Regions from separate parts of the Homo sapiens genome. Here regions 2 and 3 are each linked to region 1. Evidence: promoter capture Hi-C in 16 types of primary human blood cells and fetal thymus (Javierre and others, 2016). All regions are on one chromosome and are shown on one strand. The core of a region is centred on a gene start or on the middle of the fragment in contact, and the rest is flanking DNA. Distances in the headings are between cores, read along the strand shown.

Evidence for each region. The method cuts DNA at HindIII sites, captures the fragments that hold promoters and counts their contacts. A CHiCAGO score of 5 or more calls a contact.
Region 2: a contact is called between a fragment that was not itself captured here and the fragment with the promoter of CYP4V2 in region 1, in 1 of 17 cell types (activated CD4 T cells). The highest score is 6.1, in activated CD4 T cells.
Region 3: a contact is called between a fragment that was not itself captured here and the fragment with the promoter of CYP4V2 in region 1, in 1 of 17 cell types (M0 macrophages). The highest score is 6.6, in M0 macrophages.

What each region holds. Positions count from the first base shown.
Region 1 is chr4:186,190,274-186,193,495 of GRCh38, forward strand. It overlaps CYP4V2 (cytochrome P450 family 4 subfamily V member 2), which reads left to right and starts at 1,294. Exons shown (of 11, transcript NM_207352.4): 1 at 1,294-1,764. The coding sequence starts at 1,551. It overlaps FLJ38576 (a long non-coding RNA gene), which reads right to left and starts at 1,217. Exons shown (of 1, transcript NR_046264.1): 1 at 1-1,217. RefSeq lists a silencer at 1,091-1,620. The HindIII fragment of the contact is 5,614 bases long and covers 1-2,655 here.
Region 2 is chr4:182,912,854-182,916,115 of GRCh38, forward strand. It overlaps DCTD (dCMP deaminase), which reads right to left. Exons shown (of 6, transcript NM_001921.3): 2 at 2,608-2,722; 3 at 2,070-2,205. The coding sequence starts at 2,715. Among named protein-coding and RNA genes, the nearest start is that of DCTD, 2.9 kb to the right of the region's middle. The HindIII fragment of the contact is 2,165 bases long and covers 300-2,464 here.
Region 3 is chr4:189,945,487-189,948,792 of GRCh38, forward strand. The region is part of intron 2 of FRG1 (FSHD region gene 1); the gene reads left to right. Among named protein-coding and RNA genes, the nearest start is that of FRG1, 6.3 kb to the left of the region's middle. The HindIII fragment of the contact is 3,672 bases long and covers 1-3,306 here.

The DNA.
Region 1 (3,222 bases), core at 44-2,543:
AACCTTATTATAGCTCAGCCTCAACCCTTTAGAGAGGAGGAAACTAAAGCCCATGAGACTTGCTTAAAGATACTAAGTGAACATATTTATTTTTTAAAGTGTTAAAGTGATTAAACAATGTAGACGTGAATGAAATAAAAAGCGTAAGTTCCCCATCTTCATTCCCACTCCATAGAGCTGATCAGTATTTTTACTTGCAGACATTAGTGGAGCCGTAGAGAAAGAAACCTTTTCTCCAAAAGAAGGCATTACTTTACACACTCCGTTCTGCAACTTGTTTTGTTCACTTGCTATTTCACGTCAGCCCATGCAGATGACTTAAAACAAATTCAAATGGAGAAAAGCCTTAGGCATGTTTTTCTCTGCACTAAAGAGGCCCTGCAGGTGGCTGTGGCCAACTTATGCAGTGGCTTCGAGTGAACGAACGTAATTAGTAATTAAGCAAAGCGGGCATCCAGGACATTCAGTTTCATCTTCCTGGCACTTTAGTGTTTAGGAAGGGCCTGGCCTCTCGGGGAGCGACACTCCTCGCCCGGCCACTTTGTAAGAAGCATCGAGCGTGGAAAAGGGGCTGGGGTCAGCACTGGGGCCCTCTGCCGGGAAGAGAGACTGGCGGCCAGCACACGCGTCTCCCCAGGCTGAAATGGGGCACCCTCTCGCGGCCCTTCCCTCCCTTCCCGGGCTGGGTGGCAGGTCTTGGCTCTTCTGCGAGTACCCCGCGGCTGCGGTCTCCCGGCACCCGCTGAGCAGCCTCGCCCGCCTTCCTCTCCCACCCGCCCCTGCGTGCTCTCCGGGGCTCCGGCTTCCTCGGTCTGGTGCCTGGTGCGTATTTTGGAAAATACCTGGCTCATAACCACCTCATTGAGCTCCCAGTGTCCCAGTGGGCCAGCGGACACACACGGGTAGCTGACTTCCCTAACGTGTCCCCAAAGCCTCCCTGGATTACAGCGCCCGCTGCTCCATGTGACCCCGCGGGAGCCAGGACGCGCCCCGCCTCCCGGGGCTGCAAGTTGCGCAGGGAGCGAGCGATGCGCAGCAGAGCTGGGCTCCGAGCCGGATGCGCCTTCCTTTCCTCTCCAGAGCAGGCTGCCCGCCCGCGGAATCCCGCACGTAGAGCAACCTCGCAGCACCCTCAGAACAGCCCCGCTGGGGCGCGCCGGGCTGCCGCGGTGACCTTTCCGACGCCCCTGACCCCGCATCCGGAGGCGGCCGGAAGTGTCGCCGGCCTCCTCCCGGCGCAGCCTCCGGGCCTCCAGTGCAATCACTACGCCCTGGGGCCCGGAAACCGTTTTCCGGTCTTTCGCTTTCGGCTGGGGCGTGGAGGCCGCGGTGCTGCGTAGGCCGGGCCGGGCGCAGGAACAGCCCCGTGGCGCCCTCTCTGGCCGCCGCCCGGGCGGGAAACGTCGTTCCGGGGACCGGGCGACCCCGCAGCGGGGAGCGCGCCAGGTCCGCGCGGGGAAGTGGGCGGTGTGCGGCCGGCACCGCCTCGCACCACGCCCCCGCGGGCCCGCACTTTCCCGGAGTGCACCCCGCGGCCGCCAGCCGGGGCGATGGCGGGGCTCTGGCTGGGGCTCGTGTGGCAGAAGCTGCTGCTGTGGGGCGCGGCGAGTGCCCTTTCCCTGGCCGGCGCCAGTCTGGTCCTGAGCCTGCTGCAGAGGGTGGCGAGCTACGCGCGGAAATGGCAGCAGATGCGGCCCATCCCCACGGTGGCCCGCGCCTACCCACTGGTGGGCCACGCGCTGCTGATGAAGCCGGACGGGCGAGGTAAGGGCCGGCGCTCCTCCTGGAGCGCAACGGGGTCCGCAGCCCCGTTCCCACCCTCCGATCAGCCAGGAACCCGCTGCTTGTGGCGCTGGCCGCAGGAGAGAGGAGCCTGTCACCCTGTGGAGAATGCACTCCCAGTTCTAGTCGTTGCCCCTTGGCACCCGCCGACACTGCTAGTGCCCCATCCCAAAGTGAGCATTTTCTTTGTGTGTAGCACAGGATGCGGTATTTCCAAACCCCTGCCCTCGGTCTTTTCCCACCTCACCGCTGCTCAGCTCTCAAAGCCCTGCCGTTTCCTCCTGCCTTGGCTTGGGAAGCCTTAGGAACAGAAGCTCCCTGGGAGCACAGAGCGGTTTTAAACTGGCCAACACCTTAACGCCCAGAGCCGCCCTCCTCTCGCTGCCACTTTGGAAAATAAGAGACTAGAGATTCACTGGACGCTTCCTCCCGGCATCACAAGACTTGACTGCTGCTTCAGTTCCCGCTTGACCTTCATACTTTAGCCCTTTAAAGGATGTTACATAATAACAATTAAGAGACGGCAGGGCCTTCAGGCAGACTTCTTTGGAGGGTGTCAAACGCCTTGTTTATTAAAGAGTGAATTTTTTAATTAAAATCATGTTTTAAAACAGAGATGGACATTTTATTGATGGAAAAAAATCACGTTAAGTTAGAAAGCTCTCAAAAGTACCTGGTATTTACAACTCCCTGTCAGGGAGGGCGAACTCGATCTCAGAGTTTTATTTTCATCAGGGATTACGTTGAGGTACCCAGAAATGAGAAGATTTGCCCAAAATGGCATATTTTAAAATTGGCCCAGACCAGAACCCAGTTTCCTCTGGGATTATTTGTTAGTAATCGTTTTACAGGCTGAGCATTAACTAACTCCAAAGCTTGAAGGACTTTTTCTCATTTTCACTTGTTTTCTCTAATAAAAATAATGCTGTAATTTCAACTTCACAAGATGAGGCCTCATGGAAGAGTGTTTACCAAAATATTAAAAATACTTTGACAGAAAAAAATCAAGCGAACTCTTTGCCAACCAAATATCATCATGACTGATGTAACAAGTAATCCAACACAGATATGAAAATCACACTGGTAAAAATCATCTCAGTTAATTCTAAAAGCAGAGCTAACCACCCCTTTTGTCCTAAGGCTTTATGGTATTAAAAAATAAACTGTACAAAAATATAGATTTTCCCCTATCCCCTACCCCTGGAAAGTAATATACTGAAGTCTCATCATACTGTTTTGGGGATTCCAGTAATTAAAATCTCTAGTGAATAAAGACCTGTTTCAAAACAACCTGTGAGCTGACTGGACTATTTAAAGTAATTCTCCTTGTAGTCACTTTCAGAGTGAAGACAATGACGAATACTGTCTTTTACAAAGGGACTTTTTATTCCACCAACAAATTCTGGATTTTGGCATCAGGAAAACCACTGTTCAATTTCC
Region 2 (3,262 bases), core at 132-2,631, 3.3 Mb before region 1:
CTCACCCAGGACCCCTCCGCACTGTCCAACCACGGGTATCTTTTGCACCAGCTTGAGTATGACGGACCGCCATCCCCCCAGAATTCCTCCATATCAAAGTCCAGCCCCAGGGCCAATATTTCACTGCCCAGACTCGGTGACATACTGACTGTGGCCGTCACACAGTTCAATGCAGACCTTTAACATATCGACCCTCCACTTTCACCATTTTTATAGGGGACTTTGAACCGCACTGTGAAAAATTATCTTTGCATGGACTTAAAAACAACTAATCACTTCCCTTCTTTCTTACCATCAAAAGCTTATAGAATCAAAATCAGGGTGACAGTTTCTGAGTCCGCGCATTTTTCTAATTAGTCATCCACTACCACCGGCTCTGAAGCTGTGCTGAGAAGACAGTCTTACCCTCCCCCAACTCCATCCTCTCTTCCCACTCCGACGAGGGAGGGTGAGGTTAAATCAAGGATCTGAGGATTCGGTCCCCTTCATCCCTAAACTACTTTTCACATCCTGGAAACCCAGACTGCTTTGCAGTCCTCAGTTCCTCCTCTCTCTCCAGGTACCTCTTAACTTTTTCTTTCAAACATGGAGAAGTTGCCCCTAGGCAATTTAGAAAGAAATTTATGGGGCTTATTTAACATGATTGAGGTCCAGGAACATTAGTAAAAATATATAAATTAGACTAAATGTTGACTTGGATTCTTCATGAGAAAAACCCAGAAGAAAACCTACCAGGAGAGTCAACAAAGAAGAAAGGTCGTACATCACGCCTTGGCCTGAAGACACAATCTTTCCCATTTGGATGGCCTTACTCTCCCTTCACTTCCAACAGCGCCAGTCTGTTCATTCTCAGACATAAAATACAGGGCCTAACCTTACAAAAATCAGCAACCTGCATACCCAGCATGATTTGCCTCTTTTCCAGCATTGCTTGCATATTCTCCAAGGAATGCAAGGAAAAGTAAAGCTATGGCTGGACCCTCCCAGGCAATCTCTGAAGGAATTTTCCCTGGGGCTTAGACAGGCAACAAACTCTAAGAAGCAGCCTTCCCTAATTTCAAGGGGAAAATCCAGAGACAGTCAAGCCAAAGGTTTACAGTTCTACACTTCTAGCTTTTTCTTTTCTTTGTTTTTGTTTTGTTTTTTGTTTGTTTGTTTTTGTTTTGTTTTTTGAGACAGAGTCTTGCTCTGTCACCCAGGCTGGAGTGCAGTGGCGCAGTCTTGGCTCACTACAACCTCCACCTCCTGAGTTCAAGCGATTCTCCTTCCTCAGCCTCCCGAGTAGCTGAGATTACAGGCACCTGCCACCACGCACAGCTAATTTTTGTATTTTTAGTAGAGATGGGGTTTCACCATGTTGGCTAGGCTGGTCTCGAACTCCTGACCTCAGGTGATCTGCCCGTCTCCACCTCCCAAAGTGTTGGGATTACAGGCGTGAGCCATCGTGCCCAGCCTCACTTCTGGCTTTTGGTCTGACCACAGCCTACTGTGAAATTGCAGCATCCCCTGTAACTGGAGGAAGCAACTGGATCCTCCATCTCCTGATGTCTAGTTCACAGTTTGATTCCTGCTTGCCAGCAATGAGCTTGAGCCAGATGTTCTCATCAGGCACATGGGCTGAATGAAGCCTGCTTCTCATCAGACCAAAGCCCGAGCCAGCCCCTGGTTAGCCGACCCTGCTTCCAAGTAGTAAAAAAAGGAACCCACAGAGACACCATGCACATCCCTCAGCTATCTCTGCAAGGGGCTGTGACCCTCTGCAGAGACGCCGACTATCAGTGCACTGGTGTGGTGCAGGCCAGCAGGTTGCCAGTGAAGCCTGCCAGGCTCAGCACAGGCAGCAGAGCCCTGGATCTCAGGGCCAGCCTGTGTGGCCACTACCATGCTTCTCTCCGTGGCTCTCTTTGGAACTTAAGAGACAAGGCCAGGAAATTGGGGTAGTTCAGTAGGATACTTTTCTTTCCAGTTGTTGATGACAAAAGGGAGATGATGCCTTCTGACCAACTTTCTTAATTAGGCACTCACCAGGCTATGTCACTAAGCAGAATGGGACATAAAACTTGCCCTACCGTACGGGTATTTGGTGTCCAGCTTATTCTCTGCTGTCCTTCTCCAAGGCAACACGTCATCACTGCACCCATTTGGCATCCCATTGTACCCAATCCCGACAATCTTGTTTTCTGAATTCACGATGCAGGCGCCGACCTAGAAGGAAACATGCCCAAAGGCTTGGTGCCTGCAACTGGCTGGTCTGCCGCTGTGGAAGCAGGGAATAAAACCAGGGGGACTGCAGAACTCAAAACAGACGCATAGCTGCTGCAGGTGCTGAGAGCTGTCGGTCTCCTTGCCTGGTTTTTTGTGGCAGCACCCACAAGCCAAGGAAAGTGCACCCCCAGTCCCAGAAGGGGCACAAGAGGCAGTTAACAATGGCATGTGACAATTTTCTGTCTCACAGGAAGAACTAAGCTTGTAGAAACGCAGCACAAAAGGCAGACCGACCCTGCACTTTTAAGTTGACAGGCGTCCACTGAGTCTCCCCTTTCTGCTCATGTGCAGTAATCTCTTTGCCTGTGAGTATCTAAGCATTCTCCCGTGAAATTCATTTACCTGGGAATTTGGATCTTTGCTTCTCTGTGCTGATAAGAAGGCCACAGCCATAAAATACTCTGGCCATTCCAAATAGTCGTCCCGTTTCTTGCAGGAAACTTCACTCATGTTGGGTCTAGAAGAAAAACATGACAAAACAGAAGTTGAGAGAAGCATTTTAGTAAGTCTGTTTTCCAGTTCAACCCAACCACACTGAACCTTTAAATCTCTAAACATGGGCAACTTCAGCTACATTTATCAATCAGAAATCACAGCACATGGGCCCTAAACAGTCTCTGGTCTTAAGTAAAAACTTAAGAAATTTCCTATTTCAGAAGTTTGAATTTGAAACCTATAGCTTCACGTTCCCAAATATTTCATCTATTTACTGCTTTCTCATAGGATTTTTTATGCCAGCCTACAAATTGTTGTGTCCTTTACCTGTCTCCCTTACAAAGCGGAGTCAGCACAGGAGGAGGGTGGAAAAAAGAAATATTTATTGATCATCTATAGATTCCAGACATTGTTAAAGTTTATACACATCATGTCACTCAAGCCTTACTCCTAGCTAAGGTAGACAGTGCCATCCCATCTTACACAGACTCAGAGAACTTAGGTAACTTAACCTAAACCACACAGGATTATCATCCATGCCAGACGGATTCAAAGAAAACAT
Region 3 (3,306 bases), core at 447-2,946, 3.8 Mb after region 1:
TTCTGTATCTGTTGAGATGATTATACAGCTTTCTTCATTCTGCCAGTGGATTATATTGGTTTCATTTTCAACTTTTAAACTAACTTTACATCCCTGAGATAAACCCCACTTGGTTGTGGTGCGTTGTCCTTTGGGATATTGCTAGATTTGATTTCTAGGTGTTTGTGTTTTTTGTTTTTTTTTAAGATTTCTATATTGGTGTTGATGGGAGATATTGGACTTTTGTATCCTTTTCTTGTAATGTCTTTTTTTGATTTTGGTGTCAAGGTGATACTGGGTGTCACAAAATTAGATGGAAAGTGCTGTCTCCTTTCCTATTTTTGGAAATAGCTGTGTAGAGATGGGTATGAGTTGTTCTTTACATGTTTGATAGAATTCACCAGTGAAGTCAGCTGAACCCGGAGGGTTTTGTTTGGTTTGGTTTTAGTTTTTTGTGGGAAAATTAAAATTTTTTAAGAGATATTTTCAGATTTTTCTGTTGTGTCAGTTTTGGCAATTTGTGTCTTTTAAGAAAATTTCATCTAAGTTGTTGGATTTATTGGCATAGAATTGTTCAGAATATTCCTTTAATATGCTTTTAATGTCCGTAGAATCTCATCTGTATTGCAGTCTCTTCATATTGGTAATTTGTGTTTTTGCTATGTTTTCCTGGATCAGTCAGTCTAGCTGGAGGTTTCTCAATTCTTTACAAGATCATTTATTTTAGATCGTTAATGATCGTTTAGTACAGGTGTATTCAATCTTTTAGCTTCCCTGGGCCACAATGAAAGGAGAGGAATTGTCTTGGGCCACACATAAAATACACTAACGATAAGCTGATAAGCCAAAAAAAAAAAAAAAGCAAAAAAATCTCATAATATTTCAAGAAAGTTTATGAATTTGTGTTGGGCTGCATTCACAGCTGGCCTGGGCCACATGTGGCCCTCAGGTTGGACAAGCCTGTTTCAATATTACTTATTTTCTCTTTTTTTCATTTTCTATTTCATTTATTTTCAGTCTTTTATTTTTTTCCTCCCTTTAACTTATTTTCAGTTTACTTTGCTCTTGTTTTATTGCTTCTTAGGAAGGGAGTTAGATCTCTTCATTCCACTTTAGTTTCAGTTATAGTCAACACATTTTGTTTTCATTTTCATTCCATTCAAAATATCATCTAGTTTTCCTTGTGATTTTTCTTTTCATGGACACGTGAGTTATTTAAAAGTATATTGTTTTTAATTTCTACTACATAGAGATATTATAGGTATGTTATTGTTGCTGATTTCTAATTCATTTATAGTATAGTTGGAGAACATACTTTCTTAGTGAATTTCCATGTAGACTTGAATGTGTATTCTGCAGATGTTGGTTCAGGGTTTTTTGTTTGTTTGTTTGTTTGTTTTTTTGGAGATGGAGTCTCGCTGTTGCCCAACAGGCTGGAGTGCAGTGGTGCAATCTCGGCTCACTGCAACCTCCGCCTCCCAGGTTCAAGTGAATCTCCTGCCTCAGCCTCCGGAGTAACTGGAATTACAGGCACCTGCCACCACACCCGGCTAATTTTTTAAATATTTTTAGTAGAGACAGGGTTTCACCACGTTGACCAAGCTGGTCTCAAACTCCTGACCTCAGGTGATCCTCCCGCCTCGGCGGGATCCAGGCGTGAGCCGCGGTGCCCGGCCAGTTCAGTGTTCTTTAGATGTCTGTTAGATCAACTGGTAGAGCTTGTGACTATGCATATCTTCTGTGTCCTTACTGATTTTTTACTAATGCTACAGTGTATTGATAGTTATGTTAAAATCTCCAGCGGTAATTCTAGATCTGTCTACTTGAGCAGTTTTTGCTTAAAGTATTTTGAAGCCGTCATGTGTACACATTTAGGATTGTTAAGTCTTCCTTATAAATTCAGTCTTTCATTTTCATAACATTTTAACCTTATTTCTGTTAAATGTCTTGATGCCTAGTCAAATTATTTGACCACCCTTTTGCTCCTGTCAAGCCTGGGCCTTTGTTAGTTTGTGCTTATTTATTAGGGTTTTGCTCGTAGACTTAGACAGTGACTCTTAGTCTAGGAAAGGTTCATCCTCATGGGCCTCAGCCACATGTTCTAGGTATACTTAGTGAGTTCTCTCCACTCTGCTGTGTCCCAAATTTGTGTGATCTCTGGCATCTCCAGTCAGCCCTCAGAAGTGCCAGCCACTCTGCAGAGGCCTTGTGGAGCCTGCCTGCTGCATGCACTCCCCCCAGCCCTTGGCCACAGACCTGCAGAGAACTTTTGCGTACTCTTTTGAGGCCTCACCTGTATGTAGTTCCCTCTTCTCCAGTACCTTATTCTATAAACTCCCAACATGTTAGCACTGTAAGACTCTCAGCTTAGTGACAGTGACATTGCCTCATTTCTGGAGGTCTCTACCTCTCTCCGTGTGGTCAAGAAACTGCCATTGGGCAGAAAACACAAGTGTGTATGAGATTTGCCTCCAGTGTTTTCCTGTTCTCAAATATCACAGTCCTGTTCTGCCTGTGTTCCAATCTCTGAAAACAGTTTTCTCAAATATTCTATCCAGTTTCAGTTTTCTCGTTGGTCATGGTGGGAGGGCAAGTCCATCTTGGCTGGAAGAGGAAGTCCTTCTGCGTCTTTTTCTCTTTGTCCTTCCACATGGTTTTGCATTGTGGATTTTCTAAACTTGCCGTATAAGTAAGCATGTGCCTATTTGTGAAGGGAAAGAAAAAAAACCTTTTAATTTTTTAAAGCTGTTCTGTTGGTTCCTCACAAGGATCTGAAGGGATTGGTAAATAGGATGAAAGAAATTCTGTCTTTCACATGGAGAAAACCAAGTGTGACATTAATAAAAACGAGCATGTCTGTAGGCAAAGAGTTTCACTGAGCTCTGCTAGATTCAGAAGCAGTTGGACTTACAACATCGTACTTTGCAAAACACATATATTTTATTTACCCAGGAACTAAAGCTAAGTCAGCTGTGGATTAATAGAAGGTCTGTGAAGGGTACTTAGACTACAGTAAGATTGGGGAAGAAAATTCCATTTCCAAATCTAAGATATATCATTCCTTTGTGCCAAGCACATAATGATAGTAGAGATTTAAGGGGGCCCTTAGCACGGAAGCACTGGGTTAGTCAGAAGGTGAGGTGAGCTGTCACACAGCCTTGATGCTAGAATGAGGGTGCCCTGGTACTATCTTATCAGCCATGACACTGGTGCATTGGGCCATTTTTTTGTTTTGTTTTTTTTGAGACAGGCTCTTGCTTTGTTGCTCAGGCTGGAGTGCAGTGACATGATCGTGGCTCAGTGCACCCTCGACCTCGTAGGCTCAAG